Linked DNA regions of Homo sapiens: regions 1, 2 and 4 are each linked to region 3. Evidence: promoter capture Hi-C in 16 types of primary human blood cells and fetal thymus (Javierre and others, 2016). All regions are on one chromosome and are shown on one strand. The core of a region is centred on a gene start or on the middle of the fragment in contact, and the rest is flanking DNA. Distances in the headings are between cores, read along the strand shown.

Evidence for each region. Contacts are between HindIII fragments. The CHiCAGO score rates a contact against its expected background, and 5 or more counts as called.
Region 1: a fragment that was not itself captured here is called in contact with the fragment with the promoter of LIG3 in region 3 in 1 of 17 cell types (M0 macrophages); the score reaches 5.5 in M0 macrophages.
Region 2: the fragment with the promoter of SLFN12 here is called in contact with the fragment with the promoter of LIG3 in region 3 in 12 of 17 cell types (non-activated CD4 T cells, fetal thymus, total CD4 T cells and 9 more); the score reaches 12.7 in non-activated CD4 T cells.
Region 4: a fragment that was not itself captured here is called in contact with the fragment with the promoter of LIG3 in region 3 in 2 of 17 cell types (M0 macrophages and M1 macrophages); the score reaches 7.2 in M0 macrophages.

Annotation. Positions count from the first base shown.
Region 1 is chr17:34,554,806-34,558,441 of GRCh38, forward strand. No RefSeq gene overlaps it. Among named protein-coding and RNA genes, the nearest start is that of TMEM132E-DT, 23 kb to the right of the region's middle. RefSeq lists a silencer at 1,692-1,892. The HindIII fragment of the contact is 5,781 bases long and covers 1-3,636 here.
Region 2 is chr17:35,429,713-35,433,780 of GRCh38, forward strand. SLFN12 (schlafen family member 12) reads right to left here and starts at 2,788. Exons shown (of 4, transcript NM_018042.5): 1 at 2,476-2,788. RefSeq lists enhancers at 2,698-3,423, 2,792-3,991, 2,920-3,139, 3,960-4,068. The HindIII fragment of the contact is 4,520 bases long and covers 1,458-4,068 here.
Region 3 is chr17:34,978,518-34,982,760 of GRCh38, forward strand. It overlaps LIG3 (DNA ligase 3), which reads left to right and starts at 1,995. Exons shown (of 20, transcript NM_013975.4): 1 at 1,995-2,105. RefSeq lists a silencer at 2,020-2,449. The HindIII fragment of the contact is 8,847 bases long and covers 1-4,243 here.
Region 4 is chr17:34,533,440-34,537,668 of GRCh38, forward strand. No RefSeq gene overlaps it. Among named protein-coding and RNA genes, the nearest start is that of TMEM132E-DT, 44 kb to the right of the region's middle. The HindIII fragment of the contact is 3,406 bases long and covers 1-3,285 here.

The DNA.
Region 1 (3,636 bases), core at 507-3,006, 420 kb before region 3:
AGCCAGGCCTCCCAAATCCAAATCCCAGTTCCCCCCAAAAGCTGTTCCATGGTTGCTGAGTGCAGAAACCAAGGTTCGTTCTTCTAAAATTGCATTCAGAAACACGACGGTCAAGAAGCACACACACACACACCCATCACCCCAACACATGTGCCCGAACAAATGAGCAAGGCTGGGATGTGTTCATCAGCCTCCCCTATTCATACATTCCCTCCCCAACCTAGCCAAGGCTGGTCCAAATCTGCTGACACTCCGGGCACTTAATAAACAAAAACATCAAGTCACTCAATCAATAAGCTCAGCTGTCAACAACAAGCGAGGGCTGAGCACTCCTAAGAGCTAATAATGCTTTGAGCTATAAACATGGCCATTAGCTGGGCTCCTGCCCTGCCAGGCGGGCTCTGCCACTGTAGGCAGGGGTACCTGCAGCTGGAGGCCGTGGTATTTCATGGTCGGCTGAACCCACCAGCCCATCCGGGCTGGGCTTTTGCTGCCACCTCCTTCCCCTGACATCCTGGGTACCCCTGCCTGGGACATAAGGAGGGGCTGCCAGGCTAAGAAGGCCCCAACTGAATCCTCCCAGAAAATGTGGAAACCCCAAGGGCCACCACTTCCAGGGCTTCTGACTTGGAAGCCTGTGCTGCCTCCACAACCACATAGTGCCACCCTTGAGAGCTGCCAGTGGATGATGCTACACATCAGCCTTGGAGGAGTCCCATTCAGAGAGGATGCCAGACTATCTGCATTTGAATCTGGCTCGGCAACTTAGCAGCTGTGGGACCCTGGGCAAGTTACTTAACTTCTCTGTTCCTCAGCTGCCTTATCTGTAAAATGTAAATTACAGCCATCTCCCAAGGTGACTGTGAAGCTCCTGAGGTGGCTGTTGTGACTTCTGTGCCTAGCAGAATGTCCAGCAGTTAAATGGTGCCTGGGAAATGACACAAGAGGAAAGTAATCCATGGAGCCACCTATGTGGGTGGGAGAAGCCAGCACGGTTGAAAGGGGGAGGAAACCTGAGCCAAGAGGACAATGTCCCCACCCTCCTGTCTCCCATACCTTGATGTCAAGCATGGTTGGGCAGCAAGCAGAGTCCACCTTTGTCCAGCTGTTTCCTCCAGATGATATCTGACCTTAAAAATTTTGTTCAGCCTGGGCAGGTGGGGGAGGTGAGGGATTAGCAGGCCTGGATGGTACCGGAAGACAAAAGACAGTGGCCTGCCAGGATGCCAGCCCTGGACTAGGGTGGGCACTGAGGCCCCACCCTGGATCCTAAATCCAGGCACAAGATTACACTACTAGACTCTTCTTTTAAATGAGTATAAACCTTGGCAGGGAGTTGCACCACCTGAGCTGTTGTTGCAGCATGTAGAATCAGGGGTCATGTACTCCTCCAGCTTCCCAGAGGAAAATAAGATGCCTTCTTTGTAAGTAGGATTACTTGTCAGCACTTTTGACATTCCAGTGGCTTCTCCTATCTGTCTCCCTGCCTGCCTGTCTCACAGTCTCTGTCTCTCTCCTCTATCTCTCTCTATGGCTCTGTGCCTGTCTCTGTCTGTTCCTTTTTGTCTCCCTTTATCTTTTTGTCTCTATTTTATCCCTCAGAGACAGTGTGAGCACACACACACACATATGCACATGATCTTATTTCACCTACCACTAACTCTTCACCCAGTTCAGAATTCCTGGGAACTTTTGGATAAGAGTTACCACCAATGTCCCAAGGTTAAGGAGCGAAGCATCTGCCAGGTATGACGGTTCAGAACCATGGACAGAGTTTCGTGGCTGGGATCTCCTGGCCCTTAAGGAAGGAGGGCAGCTCACAGTGTCTTGGATGGGTCAGGGGAGTAGGGGAAGAAGCTCCTAAGACTGGCAAGGGAAGAAGAGGAGGAGCCTGGAGAGGTGTGAAGGGCTGGACCTGTGAAAGGAGGTGGAAGTGAGTGTCAAGTGGTGAGGCTGACTTGGGCATATCTGCGTGTAAAAGTGAAGTAAATGAAATGTAAATGCCGTGACTGTGTAAGGGAGTTGAGTGGATCTGAAGGCAGCTATGAAGGCCATGCTAAGGAATGCAACCCAGAGTGAGAGCTGTGTTGGCTTCAGCCTTCCTAGGGTTTCCCTCCTCACTGACTCCTGGAATCCAGAGTGAGTCCCAGGGGCAGCAGAGACCTACCAAGCTAAGCCCCAGGGAGCAGCAGGAGAGCTGAGTGCCTGTGGAGGGAGGGCAGGCAAGAGAAGCAGGACATTCCACCAGGCTGGAGGGTAAATATTTAAAGGGCTGTTTCCATGTGTATAAAAACTCAGTGCATCTGCTAGGCAGTATTTGCAGAAGCTGGGAGGGGAGAGCTGGACCCAGGCCAGCCAAGAAGCCTGTTTAAACCCTCTAACTCACAGCTCCCTCAACCCACACTGCACCGGCCTTCTGGCTCTTAGAGACACAGAGCCCTCTGCCTACTGATACACATGCTTGCACACAACAATACCCTGTGTACAGGGACATGACTAGACACACAAACATACATACATGCACGCACACACATATGCACAGCTCACTGGTTCCTACAGAGATGCACAAGTGAACACACACTCACAGCACCCAGATACACACCACAGACTCACAGCCAGACAGTGCAGATAGCACACTGCATGCCAGATCTCTCTCTGTCTCTCTCTCTCTCTCTCATACACACACACACACACACACACACACACACACACACACACACACACACACACAAACGCACCAGCCACACTGTATCACATACCCAATCAGACCACATAGCTCACATATCATTACAAATACATCCACAGTGGCCTATACATCTCACATGGTAACTCACACACTTGGTCCACATGGCATCACACCCACAAATGTCTGTATGACTTACACTGAAACACACAGAGACCAAGAATCACACATTAAACAATATTACAGGTGAGCCAGTACATGCACAGAAAGCCTGCCAGATCTCAAACAGGAATCAAATACAGTCATCCTCCACGTAATGCTGTTTCAATCAACAACAGCCTGCATATTCAAGGGTGGTCCCATAAGATTATAATGGAGCTGAAAATTTCCTATCGCCTAGTGATGTAATGTTGTAGCACAGCCCATTACTCACATGTTTGTAGTGATGCTGCTATAAACAAACCTACAGGACTACCAATTGTATAATAGTCTAGCATGTACAATTATGTATAGTACATAATATTTGATAATGATAATAAAGGACTGTGTTGATGGTTTATCTATTTACTATACCATGCTTTTTATCGTTAGAGTGTACACCTTCTACTTATTAAAAAAAATGTTTACTGTAAAACAGTATGCTGTGTTACTCCAGCAGCAGCCTCATATATCTCGTTTACTGCACTTCTTGATTGCACTGTTTTCTCTTGTGCTTGATTTAACCTCACAATGTTTTGTTCATCATAGCCCCAAAGTGAACAAAATCCACTGCTAATGTTGCCAGTAAGAGGCCACATCAAGTGATTGTCCTGGAAACAAAATTAAAAGTGATTAAGGACTATGAAGGTGGAGAATCAGTGATGGTTACTGCTCATCAGTCAGGCATGTGTCATTCCACCATAGCTACAATCTTGAAGAACAAGATCAAAGTGACAGAAGCTGCTAAAGGATCT
Region 2 (4,068 bases), core at 1,538-4,037, 450 kb after region 3:
GCAACACTCTTTGCCCTCCTAGGATGTCACTTTGCATTTAGTTCAGGACAGCACTGCTCTCATCCTTCCCGCCTTCTAGATAATAAACCAGCAGGGCATGAGGGTGCTTGGTTTTTCTTTTAGGATCTAGCAATGCAGTTCATCAGTGCCTGGTCGCATTTCACCTAAAGAACCTATTCCCCAACTCCCTGCATGTTCAGGACTCCAGGAGGATGGATAACCCTGGGAGGTCTGGACACCCACCAAGCCTGGCCTGACCATAGAGCACTCTGCCCTCCCTGCCTCTCTAGCTCTGCTTGAACACTGCAGATCCCTGGCTCACTGGCCCCACAGCTCTTTAAATTTTCTGGTAATGCTTTAAATTTTCTGGGCTGCTCCCCAGCCCATGCAGGAGCAAAAGTTCCACCCGACCTATAGCTTCCAAGTCCACCATTCTGAAGTCCTCAACAGCCTGCAGTTTATTAGAAGTTGCTACAGAGACAGGAAAGTGTTACCGGTGGAGGGTGTCCTGCTCACTGAAACATTCTGTTTGCAGGAGAAAAACAAAAACTTGGTCTGTTCTAGGATCTATGTGTTTCCTTAAAGTCTTAGAATGAGCAACTCCATTTTGGTTTGGTTTGGTCTGTTGGGGCCATGAGCTCAGTCCAAAACACTGGCCTTTCACAATTTTGTTTTTTAAAATTCCCCCTTTTTGTTCAGGTTCTCACTTAGGTGAGAATGTAACCAAAACGTAAGGCCTTAGCGCCGCTCTCAGTTACCATCATTTTGGGTTTCCAGTCTCAGCACACCATCCATAGGTTACAGTGTCCTCATGGTCGCATATTTGTTTCACTTCTCATCATTCCAGTTGAAGAGAGACCATTTGACATTCTAGAGATGGCTGCATGCAAACATCGAAAACCTTTGAGAGAATACAGTGCACCAGGGAGCCTATTATTATGATGACTATTGGGAGGATAATACCAAGAGTTTGGAGGATGCTCCTTGCCCAGGGTTCCCATAAACCAAACCAGTTAAAATTAAATAGATCAAATAATGAACTAAATAAAGAATCTACCAACTTAAGTAAACAATCTCCTCATTAATCCCCTACAACTGAATCTCTTAATCTTCATTTAATGTATTTCTCCATAGACTCTAAGTGCCAGCAGCTGCACAGATACTTCTCTGTTCAGCCAATTCTATCATAACTTTCACAAAAGAATTTAAAGTCTGTTGTGTAACTATGGCCTTTACAGTAGATGTTCTGAGAACATCTATCCTATGGGTTCTAGGTTGTGAAGGGGTTGATTGTTCTCAGTGAACCATAAAAAGCTTTCTTTACCTGGTGAAAATACACTGTAGCATAATCATGGGAAAAGCTTTTATACAACAAGAAAACATGCATTGAAAGTGACATTGAATAAAATCCCTTTGTAAATGTTTAAATGGCCCATCGGGTAGCCAAATGTACCTGAAGCTTTGATTGTCTTCCCAGGAATATGGATTTGAGAAACCAAACATTGGTTATAAACAACTTTAGCAATTTATAAGTCAGCGGTTTCCATGGCAGTTTGATTTTTAAAGGTCAAACTTCCTCGCACTTCAAAGAACGCTGAGGCCAAACAGCACCAAAGGAGAACATCACACTTTAACCCGACACAACCCTGCTTAGAACAGCAGCACAAGAGCCTGCATACATGCAACTCCATCCCACTTTACCATTCAACAGCAAACTCCAGATTCCAAACAATATTGAGGCCAAACACTACTGCAACCGGAAGAGAAAATTCTAAGGAGGGCTTAGTACTAGGCCTAAGAACCTCTACCAAAGGAACCCCCTTGGAGAGGCTGAGGTCCAAAGGATCCTCCAGAGCATCCCCCTTTAGGGTCCAATCTTAGAGCGTCAGACGTCTCTGACCTTAGGTGGTCACCAGTGCCACTTTACATGTTTTCCCTCCAGAGGGGATGGCCTACTGTGAGCTTTCCTTTTGTCTCTGGATGAAGGCCTTGACTTCTAGCATCCTTATAATTTGATAAGGCCATGCTTTCCCATGGTTCCCATTCCACTAGAGTGATAGTCATGAACTTTAATGATATGAAATGGAGGCTAGGTGGGTTTCTTTTAACCTTAGCCAGTAGAGTAGGGGAAGGGAAGAATTTAACATAAGGAAAGAAGGTTTAAGTCACCTGAAACACGTGTGAGTTCGCCCTGGAGAAGCTGCGTCACACATAGGGATCAGGGACCACAACCAGAAAAGACAGAAAAGAGCCCTTCCCGCTTCTGGGCAGGGCAACTATCCCCATTCACTCCTTGGCCTTCAAGGCAGCACTGGAGAGTAGCCCCCGGCCAGAAACCTGCAGTCGCCTCCGTGTCTAGGCGCTACCCACCAAGGATCCCACGTTGGAAAGGAAAAGAGAAAGAGAGAGATTTACCTGTATGGAGCAGAAAGGAAAAGGGAAAGGAGAAAAATAAATCCCAGACTTTGGGCTTACCTCCTGGTTGGCTTGCCAAAATATGTTACCAGTGAAGAGTGTCCAGGTTCTTGGCGTGTTGAACAAAGAACTGGACAAACACACAAACAAAGCAAGGAAAGAATGAAGCAACAAAAGCAGAGATTTATTGAAAACGAAAGTGCACTCCACAGGGTGGGAGCAGGCCCGAGGATAGCGGCTCAAGAGCCCGGTTTCAGAATTTTCTGGGGTTTAAGTACCCTCTAAAGTTTTCCCACTGGTTACTTGGTGTGCACACAATGTAAATGAAATAGGAGCCCGAGATCAGTCTGAATGGTTGCAGAAAGCGATCAATGGGAGGCTGAAGTGAAGTTACAAAGTTATGCCCTATGAAAACATCTGATTGGACGCAGAAAGCGAAGTTACAAAGTTACATTCCTATGCACATGAAGACTTGGCCCTGGAGACCAGTCTGATTGGTTGCGGGAGGGGACCAATCAGAGGTATTTTCAGTTTTTCATCTGCCATGTAGAAAAGGAGGGGCTACAAAGGAAGTTTGTGGAAAGTTGGGATTTTCCTCCAGACCCTTATTCTCCTGCTTCAGAAGGGAGAGAAAGCAGACCGGGATGGGGGTGCGGGGATCTTCCCGGGAGTGGTGGGGTTGTGTTACCAGTGCCCCACCTCCTCCCGAGCCAGCAGACTCCCCAGAAATGAAAAACTAAGGCTGGAAGGTTTAGCGATGGAGCAGGACCAACTTACCAGCTCGCGGTGCTCCCTAGAAGCTGGATTCTTCGCAGGTGCGAGCACACCCCAGATGCCAGCGTGGACCCTTGAGCAACTGGAAGTTAAAAACCCACGAAAACAGCTCTGAGTGATCTCTAGGGAGCTCTCGTTTCTTTTTCACCCATGTGTATTTTTTAAGACAAAAAGAAAAAAGGTAATTTAAAGAAAACAAAGAACAAAGGAACTTGGCGAGGCCCAGGCTACAGTCCGCGGGCTCACTCTCCACAGAGTAAAAAGAACGCGAATCCTTTTCTGTTTTCCGGCCCTCCCCATCCTGGGCTGCGGCTCCACACTTCCCCAGCGTGGCCTGCATTTCTATTGGGCAGCTGGCGCTCCGGAAGTGTCCGCACTCTTTATTATCGACTCTGCGCCTTTGGGCAATTGTCACTATTTTGGTTCATCAAAATTGAAGAAATACCAGGCATTCTTACCATGCCCCTAAAGGGGTGACTCAACCTTTCCAGCTGTACTCGCATTCCCAGAGCAGCACTGCTGCCCCCTTGCTTAAAAGCACGGTTGCCCCCAGGAACCAGGCCAGGGCAGCTGTGGATGGACAGGAGAGGACAAAGGTGCAAGGAGCGGATTGCTCCAGGACAGACAGATTCAAATACCTACCCCTGGCAGTGTAGGGAGCATCTTGGGGCCATTTGGGAGATTCCTTTATTGGGATGCTCCAAAGGCTAGTCTGGCCGGATACAGTCCTCCTGCCACTTTGCTTTCCTTTAGCCCCCTTATTATGATAATTATGGTAATACATGTTTTTCCTGCTAACTTGTCTAAGAATTGGTGTCTCAGTACATAGCTTTTGAAATGCACACAGGCCACGATGACTCATCACAGGGGAATGTGCAA
Region 3 (4,243 bases), core at 745-3,244:
GCCAACATCGTGAAACCCCGTCTCTACTAAAAATACAAAAATTAGCCAGGCGTGGTGGCGGGTGCCTGTAATTCCAGCTACTCAGGAGGCTGAGGGAGGAGAATTGCTTGAACCTAGGAGGCAGAGGTTGCAGTGAGCCAAAATCCTGCCACTGCACTCCAGCCTGGGCGACAAGAACAAAACTCTGTCGCAAAAAAAAAAAAAAAAAATTATTAGCCCATTGTGGTGGCAAGGGCCTGTAATCCCAGCTACTTGGGAGGCTGAGGCAGGAGAATCACTTGAACCTGGGAGGCAGAGGTTGCAGTGAGCCAAGATCGTGGCACTGCACTCCAGCCTGGGCGACACAGCGAGACTCTGTCTCAAAAATAACTAAATTAATTAATTTAATTTAATGACAATAAAAGGTATAGTATACTAAATATATAAACCAGCAACATCGTCCTTTATTATCATTATAAAGTTTTATATACTGTACATAATAGTGTGTGCTATGCTTTTATACAACTGGCAATGGAGTAGGTTCGTTTCCACCAGCATCTCCACAAACACATGAGTAATGTGCTGTCACTATATGATAGGGATTTTTCAGCTCCATTATAATCTTATGGGACCACCCTCATATATTTGGTCCATTGTTGGCCTAAATGTCATTATGTGGTACATATTATTAATGAGATATTTTACTTTTTTTAGTATGAATTTTTTGGTGTGTATTTTCTTCACTTATAGCACATCTCAATTCCATGCAACATTCAAGTGCTCAATAGTCACGTGTGGCTAGTGATTACAGCATTGGAAAAAGACAGATACGGTTGAGGAAACTTAAAAAAATGTAGCAAATGTAGTTGTAGAGACGTGCTCAAGATCACTCAATTATCATAGCTAGGACGTGAGTCTCCAGCGACCTTCCAATTGCCTGGTTGAACCAAAGCCCTGGTTCATTCTGCTGCGCATTAAAAGCAGGCTTTACTCCCCTCCAAACAGTAGAATCGCAGTTAAACTTAGTCAAACAAACTTAATGTATCCAATACAAAACTCATCTTTCTAACCCTAACACCTCCTCTTCCTCTCTATTTTCTATTTCAGTTGATGGTACCATTATGTTTCTGCTCACTCAAATTATTATTATTTTATCCATAAACGAGCACTTTATCTAGAAGATCATTTAAATTCTAAATGATCTTCAAAAACGCACTTTACTCTCCACCCTAACTAGCTGAATCATCTCCCACATGGGTCACTATGAGAGCCTTCTGATTTGTTCCCTTGCCTCAGTCTCTCCCCACCCAGCTTCAGCAGTATTCCCTAAGACTCTTCATGGCTCTCCGTCCTCTACAGAGTAAAGACGACACTCTTCATCACACAGCACAGAATTCTCTCGGGAACCTGTTCTTTGCTTACCTAACAAGGCCCAGTTGTTTGCTCTTCCTAGACTCTGAAGAGGTCACTTACCCTCAGGCTGCTACATTTGTAAAAATCGCCATCCCAACTCTCAAAGAGCTGGCTTCAGATTTGAGATAATACACTTTGAATGATATACAATCAAGGAGTTTCTCCTCCATCACTCCTTTACATTTTATATCTATCTGCTGTTTAGTGCCTCGTCTCAATTCCATGAAAGCTACTGAATACAAACTATTTACTAGGGAGTCTGCGGGACACAAACAGAGGGATTATATTTAAAAAATAGATTGACGCGATCTTTGCCTTCCCCGACCTCATTACAATATAGTTTCTCCACCAATATCTTTAAAAACAGATCCTCTCTAACAGTATGAGAAAATCAAGGGGAGCCTCGGAAGTTCAGGCCAGGCTGCGTTCCGAGGAGCCGCCACGTCCCCCCACCTCCGCTTCCCGGGCCGCGATTGCAGGTTGAAAACTACTCCCAAACATCACAGGGCAGGCAGAATGCAACTACGACCCACGTGGCAGACGGGGGCGGGGACCGGTCGCGTGGCCGCGGCCTTGGCTCTTGCGCCTGCGCGCTGCCTCCCGCTCTAGGACCCGGATTTAAAGAGACAGGCGCTCCAACCGTCGTGGGCTGCCCGCGGCCTGTAATGAGCAAGTTCCGAGGCCTACGGTGAGCGCCGGAGCCGGAGAGGCAGGTGAGGGGCTACGCGGCGCGGCACGGCGCGGCGGGGCCCGGCGTGGGGAAGGCAGCGGGCCCGGGGCGAGGAGCTCGGCGCGGCCGGGGAGCCAGCCCCCCGGCTCCTCCCCCGCCCGCCTGCGGAGCCCCGGGGCACACCCTCCGTGACGTGGCGGCCCTCCCGGGAGCCCAGGGGGAGGCTCGCGGCTCCCCGGGACCCCCACGGGGCCGCGTGAGGCGGGGAGGCCGGCGCCCGGGCTGTGTTCCCTGTGGAACCCACGGGGCCTTCTCGTACCCTGGCCCGGCGTGCGTCCTCCTGCGCTGAACCGGGAGCGCTCGGGTGGGACTCAGGGAGCCTTGATCACTTCCCGCCTGCGTCCCGGACCCGGTGGAGGAGCGCTCCTTTCTGCCTCGCCGGGGGTCGCGGCCTACGCCGCCGACCCCACTGTCCCCGCCACTCTCCGACAGCGGCGCGGGAAGCCCTTCGAGAAAAGCGGCGGCGGCCAGGCCTCAGCGATTTCCTTCTCGGGCCCCTGGGCTGCGGCAGTTGTGAGGGTGCGGAACGAGGGACAGACGGGTTTCCTCAAAGCTGCATTGTGCCTCCTCGTGGCCCAGCGCCTCCCGAGCCTCCCTCAAGTCCACTCCTTTCATTATTGGGGCCCTAGAGGTTGCTCTGTAAATTGATCTTCTAGGAAAAGTGTTGAAACTCACTTGTTCTGACCTCCTTTTATGGGTCTGCCGTACTTCCACTTACCTCACCTCTGTGGTTCTTAAACTTTGGGAGTTATATAGCCCTTTGTGAATATCACGAAAGTGATAGACCTCCTCCAAAAAACCGTGCATTTTTATCGAATGTACATTTTGTATACATTTTTAGAGAGCTCAGAACAGCCTCCCTCCCCCACAACCAGCGCATTCATGGATTCCTTGTAATTTTCCCAACTACCCTGTGAGGTAGGTATTATTTACCCTGCTTTAGAAATAAGAAAACAGATGCAGATAAATTAAGAGTTTTCTCCGAGGTAACAGTCAGTAAACTGTACAGTCAGACTTGCACTCCCATCCCTTATTCCAGGTCCACCAGCTTTCCTTCACATCATGTTGCACTACAGTAAGCAAAGCCTGCTTTTTATTATAACGTGACAGCAATTTTGCTTCACAGCGTGTGCAGACTGAACATAATTCCAGTATACTTAAAACTAGGACTATAAAATGCTTTAGAAAACATGAATATAAGAAGATGCTGATATAATCTTTTTCCATTTGGATTGATTTATGAGTTCCTGTGAGTCTTGCTGCCCAGTGACTTCAGCATTCTCTGATTCAAGTTGCTGAATGATAAACAGGTTAATTGCACATCGGAAGCCTCTTCTTGAAAGATAACGACGTCACCGATCATAATAGGAGCTGACGTTAATGAGAGCTCTTGCTGTGTGCCCAACTGTTTTAAGGGTTTTACTCTTAGAACAGCTCTTTAAGTTAGGCCCCATAATTAGCCACATTTTACAGATAAGGAAGCTCAGGAACAGAGGTAAGAAACCCATCAAGGTTATACAGCTGGTAAGTGGCTGAGTTAGGATTTGAACTCAGGCAGTCTGATTCCAGGCTCTGCTTAGTTGTCTCTCAATATAGGGATTCTAACTCAATTCCAAATCTATATAGTGGCTTGATTTCTGAGGATGGCATATGTGTTAAACTTCACAATAAAAACTTCATGAACATAATGTAATTTTTACTGGTGATTAAAACGAAACTTCAGGGCCAGGCACGGTGGCTCATGTCTGTAATCCCAGCACTTTGGGAGGCCGAGGCGGGCGAATCACCTGAGGTCGGGAGTTGGAGACTAGCCTGACCAACAAGAAGAAACCCCGTCTCCATTAAAAATACAAAAAAGTTAGCCGGGCGTGGTGGCGCATGCCTGTAATCCCAGCTACTAGGGAGGCTGAGGCAGGAGAATCGCTTGAACCCGAGAGGAGGAGGTTGCGGTGAGCCAAGATCGCGCCAATGTACTCCAGCCTGGGCAATTAAAGTGAAACTCCGCCTCAAAAAAAAAAAAAAAGAAAGTTCAGGATCTTGTAATACTTAAAGGTCATCATCCATTATGAGTATCATATGTTGCTGATGGCCTAAAAAGAGCTTTTATGTTATTTGGATTTT
Region 4 (4,229 bases), core at 333-2,832, 450 kb before region 3:
TTAAATCTTCATGCTCTTACAATCTGGGCATTCTTATCTCCCTTGTACAGATGAGAAAACTGAGGTTCAAAACCACAAAGTGACTTGCTCTCCACCCTGCTTTCCACCGTCTAGAGTCAAGACTCGCCACAGCCTTTACTAAAGATCATCTGGTCTCTACTTGGCCCTGTTATAGGGTATAAAGAGAAGAGTTGTTTGTCCATGGTGGGGCCAGAGTGACACTGAAGGGCCAGCATCCCCCTAGGGCCAGCGGCAGAAATTGGAATGGGAATCTTTGAGAAGAGGTGGAGCTGAGATCCTTGTCCGCTGCTCTCCTGCCAGCCCCTCCTTCCTACACAAACTTGGAAGCATGGAGTCTTGCATCCAGACCCGAGGCATTTCTTACAGTACGCGGATGGGTGAAAGGGTGCCCGCCACTCCACAGATCACTAGGGCTAATTGGACTGCCTTGGCTGGCTGGATGAGATCACCCTCATTTGTCCGTGGCCCATGCACAATCCCCCAAAGAGGCTGATTTTCCAAGGAACATCTGATCCTTCTTATGCCTAGAAATGGTTAAACATTAGGACTCAAACTGACCTAAGTTCCAATTCTGGCTCCTCTGTTTATTAGCAACCTGACCTTGAGTGAATCATTTAGCCCTCTCTGAATCTTGGCTTCTTCTCTGTAAAACAGAAACAGTAATACATTACAGGACTATTCCTCCTTTTTTTTTTTTTTTTTTTTCCAGAATTAGTGTGTGATTTCTAATTTAATTTTTGTTTTCTTCTGTGTTATACATGCTTATAGTTTAAAGGTCAAATCATTATTCAAGACTTTTGAAAAAGAGCTGCCATCTCTCACTTCTCTAAGAAACTTTCAATTTTAGCAGCCTTATTGATATATAATCCACAAACGACACAATTCACCCACTTAATATGTATGGATCAGTGGCTTTTGACACATTCACAGAGTTGTGCATTCTTCACCACCAATGATTTTAAATATTTTCATTATCCCCCTAAAAAGTCTCACCTCCCTTTAGCCATCAATTCCCAGCTTCCCCATCCCCTCCCTAATCCCAGCCCCTGTCAACTACTAATCTACTTCCTGTCTCTATAGATTTGCCTTCTCTGGACTTTCCTGTAAAGGGTACCATATAATATGTGATCTTTTTTGTGACTGGCTTCTTTCACTTAGAATAAGGTTTTCAAGGTTCACTCATGTTGTAACAAGTAGAGGTACTTCATTTGTTTTTTTGCCATTTTGTAGATAGACAGTACCACATTTTATTCATCCACTCATCAGTCAATGGCTATTTGGGTTGTTTCCACCTTTTGGCTATCACGAATAACATTGTATGAACATTTGTACACAAGTCTTTGTGTGGACATGTGTCTTTATTTATCTTGGGCACGAACCTGGGAGTGGAATTGCTGGGTCATATGGTAACTATGTTTAACCAGCTAAGGAACTGCCAGGCTGTTTTCAGAAGCATCTTAGCCATTTTACATTTCCACCAGCAGTGCATGAGGCACAGAGTTGTTCTTAGGAGGTTTCACTGAGATGATGTTTATGAAGTACCTAGTATGGTGTGTGACATGTAGTCAAAGAAATAATAGTTTCCTCTTTCCCTTGCTTTATGATTATAATATGTCAGTGTTCTTAACACTTTTAACTCTTCTCAACACATAACCTAAGGCTACCTGCTCACCTAATTCTAAATCTAGGGCAGAGTTCCTTTTCCCAATTTATATCACAGTTGCATAGAGAAAGTTTCTTTAGTCAAATTAACCCCATGCATCAAGGGAGGGCATGCTAGGAGCCCCCAGCAGGACCTCACTTGCTCATCCCCCAAACATAATTGGGAGGGCCAACTTTTGGCTTAACCTCACTTTATCACTATTGCTCATTCTTCTGGCATCTTGTACATCTGCACTGTCCCAGAGGCACTTGGGAACTCACATCCAAGTCAAGAATATGCTGTCTTCTTGGCATTAGGGTTACAACTCAGATCATGTACATCCTGCCCAGCACCCAGTGTCTATAGATAAGGCCCACCGAGCAAAGCTAGAACAAAACTCTAGGTATAGAATTCCAGCCCTGACTATCTAAGCCTCCCTCAAGCACAATGGGAGTCTGTAAAATACTCTAAGATAAAAGGACATGAAAGATGCAAGAAATAAATACAAGCAAGAGAACCATGGCAGGGGAAATTCACTCTAAGACAGCCTTTCCTGACTTTTGACCCCAACACCTTTAGCACGATGCCCTCTATAGTTTGCCCCAAGTCTCTTAGAATACCTCCTTTGTAGTAGCTAGGTTTCTTATGGTTGAAAGTTATAAAAACCCAACTTGAGAAAGCTGAAGCTAAAATAGGACTCACTTGGCTCATTTAATAAAGAAGTCTGGGAGGGGGGAGGGGGACACATCTGAAATGATACCACCACTTAAGTGCCCTCTTTCTTATATAAAGGTCTGTGGCCCTTTCCTGCTGGAGACAGGCTTCTCCATGGGGTTGTGTAGGTCGGACAGAAGGGTAGGGGTAGGTGTTGTGCCCTAGATATTTCTAGGCTTAAATAAATCCAGCTTAGTAATCTCAAGCACAAGGAAAGAGTTTTTTGCCCAAGTGTCTGATATAAAATTCCAGGTCGAGCTTGGGCCATATGCCCACCCTGAGTTTGAAATGCTGAGGTTGGAAATTCCACTAGTACTGCATGGAATGGGAGACAGGAAATTCCCCAAAGATGGGGAGTTGTTTCCCCCAAGATGGGGAATCTTGAATAGACAAACATAACAGCGCTCCTGTGTGTGGTTTTCCATCTTCTCAACAAGAACCACAGAGTCTCCCAGCACCTGGCTCATTGGCATTTAGGCCTCCTTATAACCACACCTTTTACCTACTGAATGCCCAGGATCTGCCAGGCACTACCCATGGGATTTCCCTAATCCTCCCAACAGGGTTCTAAGATAGGTGTTAGCACCCCATTCTACAGATAAAGAACCTGAGGCTCAAGGAGGTCAAGTAAGTTGCCAAAAGTCACAAAGCTAGAAAGTGGCTGAGCTGAGATTCAAACTCTGAATCCAAATCCCATGTTCTTTTCTCTCATTCCCTCTCCTTAGTGACAACCCAACAGCCAGCTGGCATCTGCATGCTAGCCGCCAGCACAGGTGTGTTCTCTTAAACTTTCTGACAATGACTGAAGCCTTTTGAAGGAGGTTCCTCTGCCTCTCTCCATTCCCCATCATCCTTAGGCAGGCTGGCTCCCACCAGAGGAGGCTGGGATATTCATTACAAGGCTAACAAGCTTGTGCACCTGTCATTCAGTGACAGCACCTGAATAAGCTTTCAAGACTCGCACAGAAGGACTGTCTCCCACCAGGCAGGGATGGCAGGAGATGTTCCAACAGGGTTAGGCATTGCCTGGGTTCAGCAGCAGCCACAATTCAGCAGAGGGGTCTATCCTGGGTGTTCTGGCAGCTGGTGACCATGTCCTCTGGTTCCATGCTGACAAAATGACAGCCTAGCAGGCAGCCAACTTTATTTCCAAGCTTCAATGGGCAATATAGCATGTGGGGTCTGGAGCCAGACTGTCTGGGTTTGAATCCTAACTCTCTCACTAACTCTACAACCTCAGTCAAGTTATTTAACTTTCTCTGTGCCTCAGTTTCCTCATCTGTGATATTACCATCAAGGTATTGTCATGAGGGAATAATAGAATAATACTCACAAAATGTTTTAAACTGTGCCCCATAAATGCCAGCCATTACTAGTCCAGTGGCTCTGTGTACCCTTGACCAAAGGGAAGAGGAGGGAAGGGAGGGATAGCAGTTCCTTGTGCTCCAGGGTAGAATGACTAGATCTACCTCCTCCCAGGGGCAGCTATGACATCTTAGCTATCACCCAGATCTGGCTCCCAAGTTGTCTTATGGCCCTGGATGCTTCACTTGACCCTGAAGAGCTTTAGTTATGTTATCTGCAAAACAATGGTGATAACACCTGCCACTCCATGTAGTTTATAGCAGTGACAGCAACATGTGAACTCTAAATGATGATTCACATTCAATAAGATGTCCTGGTGGGATTACTGGGAAAGTGGATGCAAAATGAAGGTAAGCAGGACCTTTCCCTAAGCAGATGCAAAAGTTAAGACCAGGCTCTGGGCATAGAAATCTGTGGGGGTTAAAATTCTCGTCATTCTTATCACCATCTCCATCATCATCATCATCATCATCACCATCATCATCAG